Regions from separate parts of the Homo sapiens genome. Here region 2 is linked to region 1. The links are contacts of gene promoters, found by promoter capture Hi-C in human tissues and cell types (Jung and others, 2019). All regions are on one chromosome and are shown on one strand. The core of a region is centred on a gene start or on the middle of the fragment in contact, and the rest is flanking DNA. Distances in the headings are between cores, read along the strand shown.

What was found. The method cuts DNA at HindIII sites, captures the fragments that hold promoters and counts their contacts. A contact is called where the count stands out against the background at its distance.
Region 2: a fragment that was not itself captured here is called in contact with the fragment with the promoter of GSDMB in region 1 in 1 of the 25 tissues and cell types used here (bladder).

Annotation. Positions count from the first base shown.
Region 1 is chr17:39,915,266-39,921,660 of GRCh38, reverse strand. It overlaps GSDMB (gasdermin B), which reads left to right and starts at 3,026. Exons shown (of 11, transcript NM_001165958.2): 1 at 3,026-3,127; 2 at 4,331-4,579. The coding sequence starts at 4,345. ORMDL3 (ORMDL sphingolipid biosynthesis regulator 3) reads left to right here. Exons shown (of 4, transcript NM_139280.4): 4 at 1-618. RefSeq lists a cis regulatory region at 2,760-2,773, promoters at 2,752-3,114, 3,838-4,246, 3,797-4,426 and an enhancer at 4,978-5,467. The HindIII fragment of the contact is 12,682 bases long and covers 1-6,395 here.
Region 2 is chr17:40,167,977-40,174,371 of GRCh38, reverse strand. It overlaps CASC3 (CASC3 exon junction complex subunit), which reads right to left. Exons shown (of 14, transcript NM_007359.5): 11 at 5,955-6,169; 12 at 4,926-5,048; 13 at 4,710-4,774; 14 at 2,201-3,925. The coding sequence ends at 4,751. Among named protein-coding and RNA genes, the nearest start is that of RAPGEFL1, 6.3 kb to the left of the region's middle. RefSeq lists an enhancer at 5,749-6,308. The HindIII fragment of the contact is 3,465 bases long and covers 1,591-5,055 here.

The DNA of each region.
Region 1 (6,395 bases), core at 1,777-4,276:
ACTCCTGGGTTGGCTGTTGGGTAGACAGGTGGGGAAAAGGCCCGTGAGTCATTGTAAGCACAGGTCCAACTTGGCCCTGACTCCTGCGGGGGTATGGGGAAGCTGTGACAGAAACGATGGGTGCTGTGGTCCTCTGCAGGCCCTCACCCCTTAACTTCCTCATACAGACTGGCACTGGGCAGGGCCTCTCATGTGGCAGCCACATGTGGCGTTGTGAGGCCACCCCATGTGGGGTCTGTGGTGAGAGTCCTGTAGGATCCCTGCTCAAGCAGCACAGAGGAAGGGGCAAGACGTGGCCTGTAGGCACTGTCTCAGCCTGCAGAGAAGAAAGTGAGGCCGGGAGCCTGAGCCTGGGCTGGAGCCTTCTCCCCTCCCCAGTTGGACTAGGGGCAGTGTTAATTTTGAAAAGGTGTGGGTCCCTGTGTCCTCTTCCAGGGGTCCAAGGGAACGGGAGAGGTCACTGGGCCTGTTTTCTCCCTCCTGACCCTGCATCTCCCACCCCGTGTATCATAGGGAACTTTCACCTTAAAATCTTTCTAAGCAAAGTGTGAATAGGATTTTTACTCCCTTTGTACAGTATTCTGAGAAACGCAAATAAAAGGGCAACATGTTTCTGTTTCCCTGTGTCTGGCCTTCGCTTCCTGGAAGGCTGAGGGGAGGGGGCAGGGGTGTGGGCAGCGGCTCCCGCTGAGGTGCTGGTGGGGCATCAGTGCAGCTCTGACGGTGGCAGGAGGGGCGCTGGGACTGCTGGGCTTTCTGCTGGCTTCAGCAGGGAAATCCCCCAAGGGGGCTGTGAGGGAACTGGCGGCGGCAGCGGTAGTCAGAGAGCAAAATTCTCTGTGCTTTTGCCTGGCTGTTCTCCGACAGGTCTTGCGCCTTGGCCCCAGAGGCTGGGGTGACCTGTGCCATGGCCAAGGAGGGGGACACTCCAGCAATGGTTTACACGTGGAGCCAGGGTCCCAAGTGGTGCTCAGTCCTTCCCAGTGAATCCCCAGCCCTTCTCCAGTTTCTCACTTCTCTCCCCAAGGCCTTTCCCCAGTCACCTCTCCCTTGGGAGCGCTGCGTTTCCTTCTGGCCTTTCAGTGGAGGGGACTTTTCATACTTCCTCCTCCCACCATAAGCCTGAGTGGCAGGGGAAGAGGTTCTGGGGACTTTCTGAGGCCAACATGGCTAGGAGAGAGAGGAGTCCTATAGCAAGGAATCCTTATCTCACGAGGGCACTGACCTTCCAGCGTGTTCTGGGGAGTATCAGCTGCTATTCCCAGGAGAGGCACAAAGTCCCAGGTAGAAGGGAGGAGCTGTCCCCAGCAGCCTGGGGTCTCTAGCCCCGGTCCACCATCACAGCACCCTTGGAGTGAGTGTCAGGGAGTGTGGGATATTTGCCCAAGTCCAGCCACCACCCCTGTCCGAGTAGAGCCCACACAGTATTGGAAAGAGAAATATAGCCACTGCTTTCACTCCTGGGAGTAGGGGTGCCCTGGTTGCTTTCACCAGCCTGCAAGAGTATAGTCAGGGTGAGGTGCTGGAGAACATCAACAACGATCTGGGTTCAAATCCCAGCTTTGCCACTTATTAGCCATGTTGCTGTGTCAACTTCTCTGAGCTTCAGTTTATTCCACTGTTGTGTAAAGATAATGCCTCTTAGGGCTGTTGTGAGCATTAGCACAGTGCCTGGCATATAGTAAATACTCAATATATGGTAGCCATATTATTATAATTGTAATTGTTACTACCACCACTGTCGTCTATTTATTTATTTATTTATTTATTTTTTTGAGACTGAGTCTTGCTCTGTTGCCCAGGCTGGAGTGCAGTGGCACCATCTTGGCTCACTGCAACCTCCGCCTCCCAGGTTCAAGCAATTCTCATGCCTCAGCCTCCTGAGTAGCTGGGATTACAGGTGTGTGCCAAAACATCTGGCTAATTTTTTTTTTTTTTTTTTTTTTGGTAGAGACGGGGTTTCGCCATGTTGGCCAGGCTGGTCTTGAACTCCTGGCCTCAAGTGATCTGCCTGCTTCGGCCTCTGAAAGTGTTGGGATTACAGGCATGAACCACCACGCCTGGCCTGTCATCCCTTCAAATGTTCTTTCAGAACTGAGGCATGCAGAGGCTGGAAGACAGGCTGGGCTCACCGGGGTGGTTATCTCTGAGAGAGGACATGGGTGAGGTCAGAGGCCTCTCCCTGGAGAAGGAGGTAGGTGGAGAAGCCAGATGGCATCCAGATAAGGAAGACCAGCATCTCCTTGAGAGTGTACACGGGAGCACGAGATGGGGAGGGAGGCTGAGTGCTCCTTACAGGCCCACCCTGTTGCCTCCAGGTGTTAGCTGCTGTTGTCCTGGGTCTTCAGTGTTGACCGTCGCATGGCATTTGGGCAGCTGGTTCTGCTGGGTTATGGTCCTCATGTCCCTGGCACAGACACAGCCATTGCCTGCTGGCACTTGATACCTACTCATATTCCATTTCTCTATTCCAAACACACTGGATTGCATGGCCCAGGGCGCCACGGTGTGCACCATTGTCTGGCCCACACTCACCTAGAATACATACCAGGATCTCCTACCCACTCCTTAGGTACAAGAAGAAGAAGGGGTTCTGGCCGGGCATGGTGGCTCACACCTGTAATCCCAGCACTTTGAGAGGCCGAGGTGGGTGGGTCACAAGGTCAGGAGATTGAGACCATCCTGGCTAACACGGTGAAACCCCGTCTCTACTAAAAAACACACACAAAAAAATTAGCTGGGCGTGGTGGCAGGCACCTGTAGTCCCAGCTACTCGGGAGGCTGAGGCAGGAGAATGGCGTGAACTTGGGAGGCGGAGCTTGCAGTGAGCCGAGATTGCGCCATTGCACTCCAGCCTCGGCGATAGAGCAAGACTCCGTCTCAAAAAAAAAAAAAAAAGGGGGGTTCTGGCCTTAATCTGCCTCCAGCTCAGTTATAAGGTGGCTTATCTAAAGGCTTGGGAGGTGGGGCACCCAGCCCTACCCACCCGTCCAGGAAGTTCCACACCTGGACAACTTTCAGTTTCATTATTTTAGCTTCCTGAGATTCAGAGGCCAGGAACTGTGCAGAGATCTGTGGGGATTCTCACAACTTCCATTTCTGGTGAACAGCTGAGGTCAGAGAGGAGGTGGGTACCACTTGAGATGGGCCTGTGGTTCCCGGGTACTGTCTTTCCAGACACCTAGAATTCCCAGGTTGGTAGTGAACTGAGAGTCAACCACCATGATGGGGCCAGAGACAGAGGAGGAAGCAGTGAGTGGATAAGTGCCTGTGCTGGGCAGAAGGGATATAGGGGAAGGTGGCCAAAGGTAGGATGGGGAAGTGGATCCCAGGAAGCTTTTGTTTCTTCTGAGGCCAATTTACCACCACCTCATTGGGAAATTGTTGGTAGGGAGGCACCCATCCAATTGCCTTGCAGAATACAGCAAGGCAGGGAGCCCAAGAATCAGAGCCAAGGGAAGAAACGACCAGTTGAGGTTAGTAATGTGAAGTCTGGCAACCGTGCCCGTCATTCCTCCCTGGTTCCTCTGTTCATCAACGTTGGGGCTAGTCTGGCTGGGGCATGGTGGGCCTGCCTTTCCATCCCTTGGGCCCCTTGGAACAAGGGGGCAACTCTGCTGTGGGAGATGTAGAAAATGGGTCTCACTTTCTCTATTTGGGGCAATAGCTGCTACTTTTTTCCTCCAGATGGGTACCATGAGGGGCAGAGGAGAATCTGGGATCTGTGATGTTTAGCCCTCTTTACTGAGTCATGGCTGCCTCACGTTCTAGAAGTAAGGCAGGCAAATCATTCCAGGTACTGATTGTCCTGGAACCTTTGGCTCTTCCTTGACCTCATGTCACGTGCGTCCATGTGAAGAGAGTCCACGAAACGGGCTTTATATGAGCAACAAGGCTGGGTGCAGGCAAGCTGAGTCCAAAAAAGGGGTCAGCAAAGGGTGGTGGCATTATCATTAGTTCTTATATGTTTGGGATAGGCTTACAAAGTACATTCTCAAGGGTGGAGAAATATTACAAAGTACCTTCTTAAGGGCAGGGGAGAATATTACAAAGTACCTTCTTAAGGGCGGCGGCGGGGAGACTATATTGTATCAGGGTGGGGCAGGAACAAATCACAATGGTGGAATGTCATCAGTTAAGGCTATTTTCATTTCTTTTGTGGATCTTCAGTTGCTTCAGGCCATCTGGATGTATACATGCAGGTCACAGGGAATATGATGGCTTAGCTTGGGTTCAGAGGCCTGACACCTCAGGCTGCCAAATGTGGAAGATTTAAATACTTGAACCAATACCCTCCTCCCAAAAACTGAAATTGGCTTCTGTTTCTGAGTTGGTCCAGGCGCAATGTTCAGCGTATTTGAGGAAATCACAAGAATTGTAGTTAAGGAGATGGATGCTGGAGGGGATATGATTGCCGTTAGAAGCCTTGTTGATGCTGATAGATTCCGCTGCTTCCATCTGGTGGGGGAGAAGAGAACTTTCTTTGGATGCCGGCACTACACAACAGGCCTCACCCTGATGGACATTCTGGACACAGATGGGGACAAGTGGTTAGATGAACTGGATTCTGGGCTCCAAGGTCAGTATAAGGTAGATGACAGGTGGCCAGCCAGGAGGCCTTGACCGTTTGTACTCCATCTCCTTCTCAATTCCCCATTGTTATCAACCAATCAACAACGAAACTGTGGGATTTGTACACATCCACACACCTTAATTTAAGAAATGCACGGAAGAGCTGCATGGTGGGAGGAGAGTGGGAGAAGTGGAGATTTATTTCCACTGGAAACCGTTCCTAAATGGTCTTCCTTTTCCATTTTTTCCCTTGTAAAATAATCTGCTTTTAATTTAGCGAGCTCTTCTCATGTGTTTATCATTTAAATGAATAAGTAAATGAGGGCAGTTTGCTTACTGGTTAAGAAAGGATGCAGGCTTTAGGGCTGGAAGCACCTGGTTTCAAAGCCTGGCTCTGCCTCTTATCAGCTGCGTAACCTTTGGACAAGTTGTTTTATTGCTCTAAGTTTCAGTTTCCTCCTGTGTCAACTCTAGAGGACTGTTGTAAGAATCAAGTGAGGGATGGGTGCGGTGGCTCACTCCTGTAATCCCAGCACTTTGGGAGGCCGAGGTGGGCGGATCACGAGGTCAGGAGATCGAGACCATCCTGGCTAACACAGTGAAACCCCGTCTCTGCTTAAAAAAAAAAAATACAAAAAATTAGCCAGGCGTGGTGGCATGCGCCTGTAGTCCTGGCTACTCAGGAGGCTGAGGCAAGAGAATTGCTTGAACCCGGGAGGTGCAGGTTGCCGTGAGCTGAGATCACGCCACTGCACTCCAGCCTGGGAGACAAAGCAAGCCTCTGTCTCAAAAAAAAAAAAAAAAAAAATCAAATGAGAACAAATTACGTGAATCATTTATCACAGTGCCTGCCACAAAAGGAGCACCCAATAAAAGTTATCTCCCAGGTCGGTGGTGATTCTTATTATCCTTTCATGTTCCTTGGCTATCAAGACTGAAGGGGAAGTTTCTGATGAGCAGAAATCCCTAAGGTATTGAGGGAATTTATGGAAGAGTCAATTATTCCAACCCCCTGCCTCTGATCTCAGTTATTCCTGGGGTACTTGGGTTTCAGAAGCCCCAGGGTTAAGTGTTGAACTCTCACTTGGAGCCCAAAGTGGAATATGGTGAGGAGTTCATTATATTTCATAATGTGAAAAAATATTTCATAATATGAACAATAGCAAGGCGCTCATAGCTCAGACCTCTCTGATACAGTCCATTTCTTTTTATGAGGTCTCATGCCAAGAGACGGAAAAGAGCTCTAACAGCCCTGAGCAGCTTTAGAGTATTACAGTGTGCCAGGAACTGCTTTAAGTGACCAAGAGCAGTACCCAGATTACTTGGAGGTGGTGGACCTTTCCACAAGCAGAGTTTCGTTAAGCAAGCAAGGGGCTTTTGGAGAAATTTCAGATTCGCATCTTTCAAAGACTGAGTCAATTCTCTGAAAAGTAAATTGCTAAGAGCCAATTTGCTAAAAGTCAGCTCTCAAAAAAAAAAAAAAAAATCAGTTTGCCAAATGATCAATTCACTGAAAATGGAAAAATACTTTAACCCAGAACTAGGATGTTTTGCCACAATAATATTACTCCCCAGGGACAGGGCAAAGTTTAAGTCTGGGAAAAAAAAATTGACTAAGTCAGTCAACTTCCTTTAAGGAAAAGCTCATCTGTGTGCATACAAAATTCGGAGGCAGAGGTGAAACCAAACTTAAAAAGAAAATCCTTACAATGATGGGAATTGGTAATTTGAATTGATTTTTAGCTTGGTCTGCTCCCTATTTAAATGGGTTATTTTGTAACTGTATAATGCTGATGGTGCAGTTAAAGTGTGCATAGGGCTGG
Region 2 (6,395 bases), core at 2,074-4,573, 250 kb before region 1:
AAATACAGAAAAAAAGTAGTGGGGCATGGTGGCGGGCGCCTGTAAACCCCAGCTACTTGGGAGGCTGAGGCAGGAGAATCGCTTAAACCCGGGAGGTGGAGGTTGTGGTGAGCCGAGATCGTGCCACTGCACTCCAGCCTGGGCGACAGAGTGAGACTCAGTCTAAAAAAAAAAAAGGAATTAGGGACGGGGCTCAGAAAAGTCACAGTCCTCTGGCTGTGGCACCAGCACCAAGATATGGGGGAAGTCCCATCTGTCTTTATAAGATGTACAATAGTTGGGCACAGCAGCTCAAGCCTGTAATCCCAGCACTTTGGGAAGCCCAGACAGCGGGATCACTTGAGCCCAGGAATTCAATGACCCTATCTCTACAAAAATAAATTAGCTAGGTGTGGTGGTGCATGCTTGTGGTTTCAGCTACTTGAGAGGCTGAGGTGGGTGGATTGATTGAGCCCAGGTGGTCAAAGCTGCAGTGAGCCACGATTGTGCCATTGCACTCCAGCCTGGGCAATAGAGCAAGACCAAAAAAAAAAAAAAAAAAAAAAAAAAGATGTACTATGATATCTATGCCTCCCGTGTATGGATTTGTGAAACCCAACAAATGCTGCCAGCTCCATATGAAAGTTGCTCTCCCATACCAGAGATAGCTTCTGTAGTAAACTTCCATCCCACCCAGGACCTAGAGGAAAAAGTCACTTCAAAGGTAGGAACTGCCCTCTAAGCATCAAAGGCCAAGTGGACTAGGTAAACTGAATTATGACCCACAGTTGATTTGTTTTTTGAAATCATGTGTCCAGGCAGGTTATGTTATCTGTCCATTTCACTTTGGGATATTAGTGTTGCAAAATATTTGTTATAAGAAAGGAACATTGGGGCTGGGTGTAGTGGCTTGCACATGTAATCCCAGCACTCTAGGAGGCTAAGACAGGAGGATCATTTGAACCAAGGCGTTCCAGACTAGCCTGGGTAACACACTGAGACCTCGTCTCTACTAAAAACAAACCACAAAAATTAGCTGGGCATGGTGGTGTGGGCCTGTAGTCACAGCTATTTGGGAAGCTGTGGCAAGATTGCTTGAACCTTGGAGTTCCAAGTTACAGCAACCTATGATTGTGCTACTGCATTCCAGCCTGGGTGACGGGCAAGACCGTCTCAGAAAAAAAAAAAAAAGTGACTTTGGATCTGGTAGGGTGGAGAGCCACTGGCAAGGACATTAAGAACACAGACTCAGACTTGGCCTTGGGAGGCCAAGGCAGGTGGGTCACCTAAGGTCAGGAGTTCAAGACCAGCCTGGCCAACATGGTGAAACCCCATTGCTACTAAAAATACAAAATTTGTTGTACAAAAAATACAAAAATTTCTACTAAAAATACACACACACACACACACACACACACACACAAATTCCCTTCCCCTTACCTGAGCTGATAGTCTCTCTAAGACTGTGTGGTCCTGAATACTTTAGTGTCAGCATCTTTACTTTTCCTTTTTTTTTTTTTTTTTTTTGAGACGGAGTCTCACTCTGTCGCCCAGGCTGGAATGCAGTGGCGCAATCTCGGCTCACTGCAAGCTCCACCTCCCGGGTTCCCATCATTCTCCTGCCTCAGCCTCCCAAGTAGCTGGGACTACAGGCACCCGCCACCACTCCCAGCTATTTTTGTATTTTTAGTAGAGGCAGTGTTTCACCCTGTTTAGCCAGGATGGTCTCGATCTCCCTGATCGAGATCTGCCCACCTCGGCCTCCCTAAGTGCTGGGATTACAGGCGTGAGCCACGGTGGCCAGCAGCATCTTCACTTTTCAAGAAAGCTAGCTACCTGTACTTCCCCCCAACCCAGGACTTGGTATAGTTATATTGACATCTGATGGCATATTACCTTGGGAAACTTACTTGCCAAACACAAAGGAAGCCATAAAGGATACTAGATGCTCATGTGAATAACCAGCATCTCACTACTTTTCTGTCCCTGACACTTCCAATCTAAGGGATGGCATGACATCCTGGTGATCTATGTGGTTAAAAAAGATAACTGATGGGGAGTGCAGACACATTTATGGCCTCATAGGGGCTCCTCATCTCTCTGGGCTTCTGTTTCACAACTTGGGCTGACCTGAGTTGTGACCGTGACCCTGTGGGGGAATTAGGGAGTCCTCTTCCCTCCCTCCCAAATCAAGACTCATGCAAAACACTGGCAAGGGAGCCAAGTTTATAGTCTAAATTTTATTATCTCCAAGTCACAATGCTGATCACAAATGGGCACCCTTTAAAACAGTAACAAAAAACACCACCACACATGGAAAAATCCTTGCAACTAAACACAGTGGACCAACAGAGACAACTCTCACAGTGTCTTAAGGTCTGGGAATCTGGGCATGCTGCCCACAGGCTTGAGGAGACATCTTCAGGTTTAAGGCAAAGGGAACAGCCTACAAAAGGCACAACCACCAGCTACCCCTAGAAGAATCTCTTAGTTATTTCCTCCTTGGGGGTTACAGATTAAGTGCCTCTCCCCACTCTCCATCCCACACCTGTGACTCAGAGTGATTAGGCCAGCTGCTAGATGGAAGGAATAAAAACAGTGACATTACCGGGGAGAGACACAGCCACCATCTTTGCCCTCAGGTTCTGTAGAAGGACAGGGACAGTGGCCAGGTTACCCCTGGCAGACGTATGTACTGCAGTAATAGGAATCTCTTCCACAGAGGCAGCAGAGAAGTGGTTTAGTGCCATGGATAGGGAGGAAAGATAGGAGCCCTTGCCCAGAAGGTGACTGGCTTCCTTAGGCCTTAAGCCCAGGAGTTTTTATATTCTGTCTGCAAGGACAAAAATAGAATTCGGGGAAAATAAGGTAGTAACATCTAAAACACTTGTAGCAGGAAAGACGTGGAGAAGAGCAATTGCAAAGGACAGGGTAGACTGCTTGCTGGATAATATTTGCCTTTAAAGAGATGCATTGGTCCACAGCAACTGGAAAAGGGGTGTAGCAAGAAGAATGGAAAGAAGAGAAGCAAGGCCCTCTAATTCCACTTACCTCAAAAGACTGAGCCCTGAGGACTATGTGAATACACACCCCTAAAGGCAAAGGCTCTCACTCCACCATCCCTTTCTCACAAAAGCATCTGGTGTGCCATCTCTCCCCACAGTAGGGTATTGGCCCTCAGCAGAGAACAGAAGCCCATCATAGTACAGGTATTGATGGATGCTCAGACTCCTAAAAACCTAAGTCAAAGAGAAGGGCTCCTACCCACCTACTCTGAGCTTTTCTGCACAATGGGACCCTCTGTGCAGACAGCCATGCTTCCACAGGGTTAGAGTTAAGGGAATACAAGTATACAAGAGGATAACAAATGCCAACTAAAAGTGAAAGGCCAGGTCTTTTTAGACTTGGTGGGGAAGGCTGGCTGATACATTCTCCATTATCTGGGATGCACGGAAGAGTCAAAAGGGAATCCAGAGGGGCTAGAAAACCAGAAGACTAGACTTGTTTCATTTAAAGGCAGGGAGAGAGAGCAAGAAACAGAAACAAAGAGAAAAAATTAAAATAATATTAAGGATAAGAAGCCAGGCTTTAAAAATGAACATCTTAGAAAACAAAACAAACAGGAAGGAGCTTCCTTGGGAACAGAAGACACTTCAATTTCCCAGAAGTGAAGAACAGCAGAAGACATGGGCTTCTGTATCTAGACTCAGAAGCTTGGGGCTGTCTGGCTCTCTCTGCTCCCCCGAACACAGCCAACTCAAGTGAAGAGTGAAGATGGGACGAGGTCCACTTGTTTCTCCCTCTCTCTAGAGCCTGTCCTCAGAGGAAGGCAGGGGTCCTCCTCTTTCAGCTGTTTGCTGGTAGGAGCCACACCCTATATCTTTGAAGCCCTTCTGGTAGTAGATAGCCAGCTGTATTTCTCTTCTGAGTTCTCACCTCTGCTGCTCTGACAGGGGTTGGAAAAAGGGAAGAACCACCAAAGTGTTAGTGGGCCTTCTGGGCATTCACAAGCTGTTTTCAAAAAGCCACACTTCTAAATAATGTGTTTTAAGTAATGTCCTTAAACAAAAGCAACAAAACCCCCAGTCCTTCTCCTCTATGATCTTTAGAACTGGTTTTTTCTGCTATAACATCTCAAATTTAGATTTCCCTTTTCCTTGACTGCCTTCCTGTATTTTTTCCTTGTAGCTTCCCAATTGAAAACTGTCATGTTAACAATCGTTTCTACTTCAACCCTGCCCAATACACTTGCCAAACAAACAAACTGGCAAATTTCAGGACTCCTTTAAGCCTCCTGAGATATCCCATGATTATTATAACTTAAAGCATTAATCAGAGGCTGGGTGGGGTGGCTCACACCTGTAATCCCAACACTTTGGGAGGCCAAGGCAGGTGGATCACCTGAGGTCAGGAGTTCAAGACCAGCCTGGCCAATATGGTGAAACCCCATTCCCACTAAAAATACAAAAATTAGCCAGGTGTGGTGGTGCGTGCCTGTAATCCTAGCTACTTAGGAGGCTGAGGCAAGAGAATCGCTTGAACTCAGGAGATGGAGGTTGCAGTGAGCCGAGATTGCACCACTGCACTCCAGCCTGGATAACAGACTGAGACGCCGTCTCAAAAAAAAAAAAAAAAAAAAAAAAAAAAAAAGCATTAATTAAGTGATTTTTGTTTATTAAGCAAGTGTGAGCATTAGTTTTAACAATATTCACAGTAAGTTGTGCACTTACTTTTATATGATGTTAAGATTTAAAATATTCAGAAACTTGTATTAACTGGAACCCCTGCTTACAACCTGAAATAACAAAGTTGGAATTTGTTATCAGGTCATAACAAAAAGACTGTTTTCCAGAGAAACACACCCAGAAAATGAGGGAAATCCTCTGGGGAGAAGGAAAGCCCACTGACGGAGCATGTGCATTAAGTATAGGAAGGAACTCTCATACCTCAGGTGGAGGGGGCTTGATGGTGACTGGCTGGGGAGTCCTCCGGGGTGGGGAGGGCTTTGGCTGCACCTGCTGCTGGGCGGGGTTATAGTAGGTCACTCCTCCATATACCTGTGATGGGGCCTGGGACCCCACAAGCCAGGAGAAGAAAAAGTTAGGAATGAATTCATCCAACCTATGATGAACAGGAAATATTATTCAGCCATAAGAGAATTGGGGAATTTATAATTTTAAAAATATCTAATCTGCCCACCCTTCAAAATAAAGTGACTATTCATTTTTGCCTTAATTCTTCATTATTATGCTCTGGTTTTTATTTCTTCAAAGTACTGCCCAGCTTTCTCTAATTCCTACCATCAGCTGACAAATGGAAAAGGCTGAGTTCAGTAGCGACACTACAGATACTTGATTATGTCAACGTGGTGGAAGTTAAGCAGGACAGAGGTAGGGGTGATAAGGAGTAGAATACAGCTTCTTTATGCAATAGAGTAAAAACCAGGTATTGCCACCTATGATGTACCACAACACAGGAAAGAAACACCATTAAAGAAACTGAACGCTGGGTGCGGTGGCTTATGCCTGTAATCCCAGCACTTTCGGAGGCCGAGGCAGGTGGATCGGTTGAGGTCAGGAGTTTGAGACCAGCTTGGCCAACATGGTGAAACGCCATCTCTACTAGAAATACAAAAACTAGCCGGGCATGGTGGCAGGCACTGTAATCCCAGCTACTCGGGAGGCTGAGGCAGAAGAATCGCTTGAACCCAAGAGGTGGAGGTTACAGTGAACCGAGATCACGCCACTGCACTCCAAGCCTGGGCAACGGAGAAAAAAACTGAAAAGAATAAAGATGATGGGCATTACATAAGCTGCATTTCCAGCTCCTGACCACTAAGAGGCGTCTTGGTGTCACATACAAATCAGTGGCACTGAAAATGTTCTCTCAAATTCCTTTAGCATTCTCCCCATACCACATTCCTGTCTGAATTAAAGAATGTGTATCTAGAAAAACATGATCATTAGCCATCTCACCTGTGTATTAGGATACAGATGAGGCGGTGGTGGGGGAGGCAGTGCCCCTGGAGCATAAGGGTAACTGGGATTACCAAAGTTCATGACGCCTGGAGCAGAAAAGTAAGTAGGAGCAAGCAACTGCTGAGGTGGTGGCTGTCCTGGAGACATGGACACTGGTGGGGGATAGAGGCCTGGATTGGGCAGAGGAGCTGGTGTCTGGTGGGGATGTAAACCTGGATAAGGAGAAGAAAAAAACTGAAAAATAAAGTAACATCATTTTCACAGGATGGCCCGGCTGGACTGCTCAGTATAATCAGGCTCAGAATGGAAGTCCTCAGGATGGACACAAGAGGAACTTGTTGCCCAAGCAGCCAGGATGGCCAGACTCCCAGGCTAGCAGCACAAAGCTCAGGAGGATGGGTTTTGTGGCACTCCCAACATATATCCTCAGGTACTGGA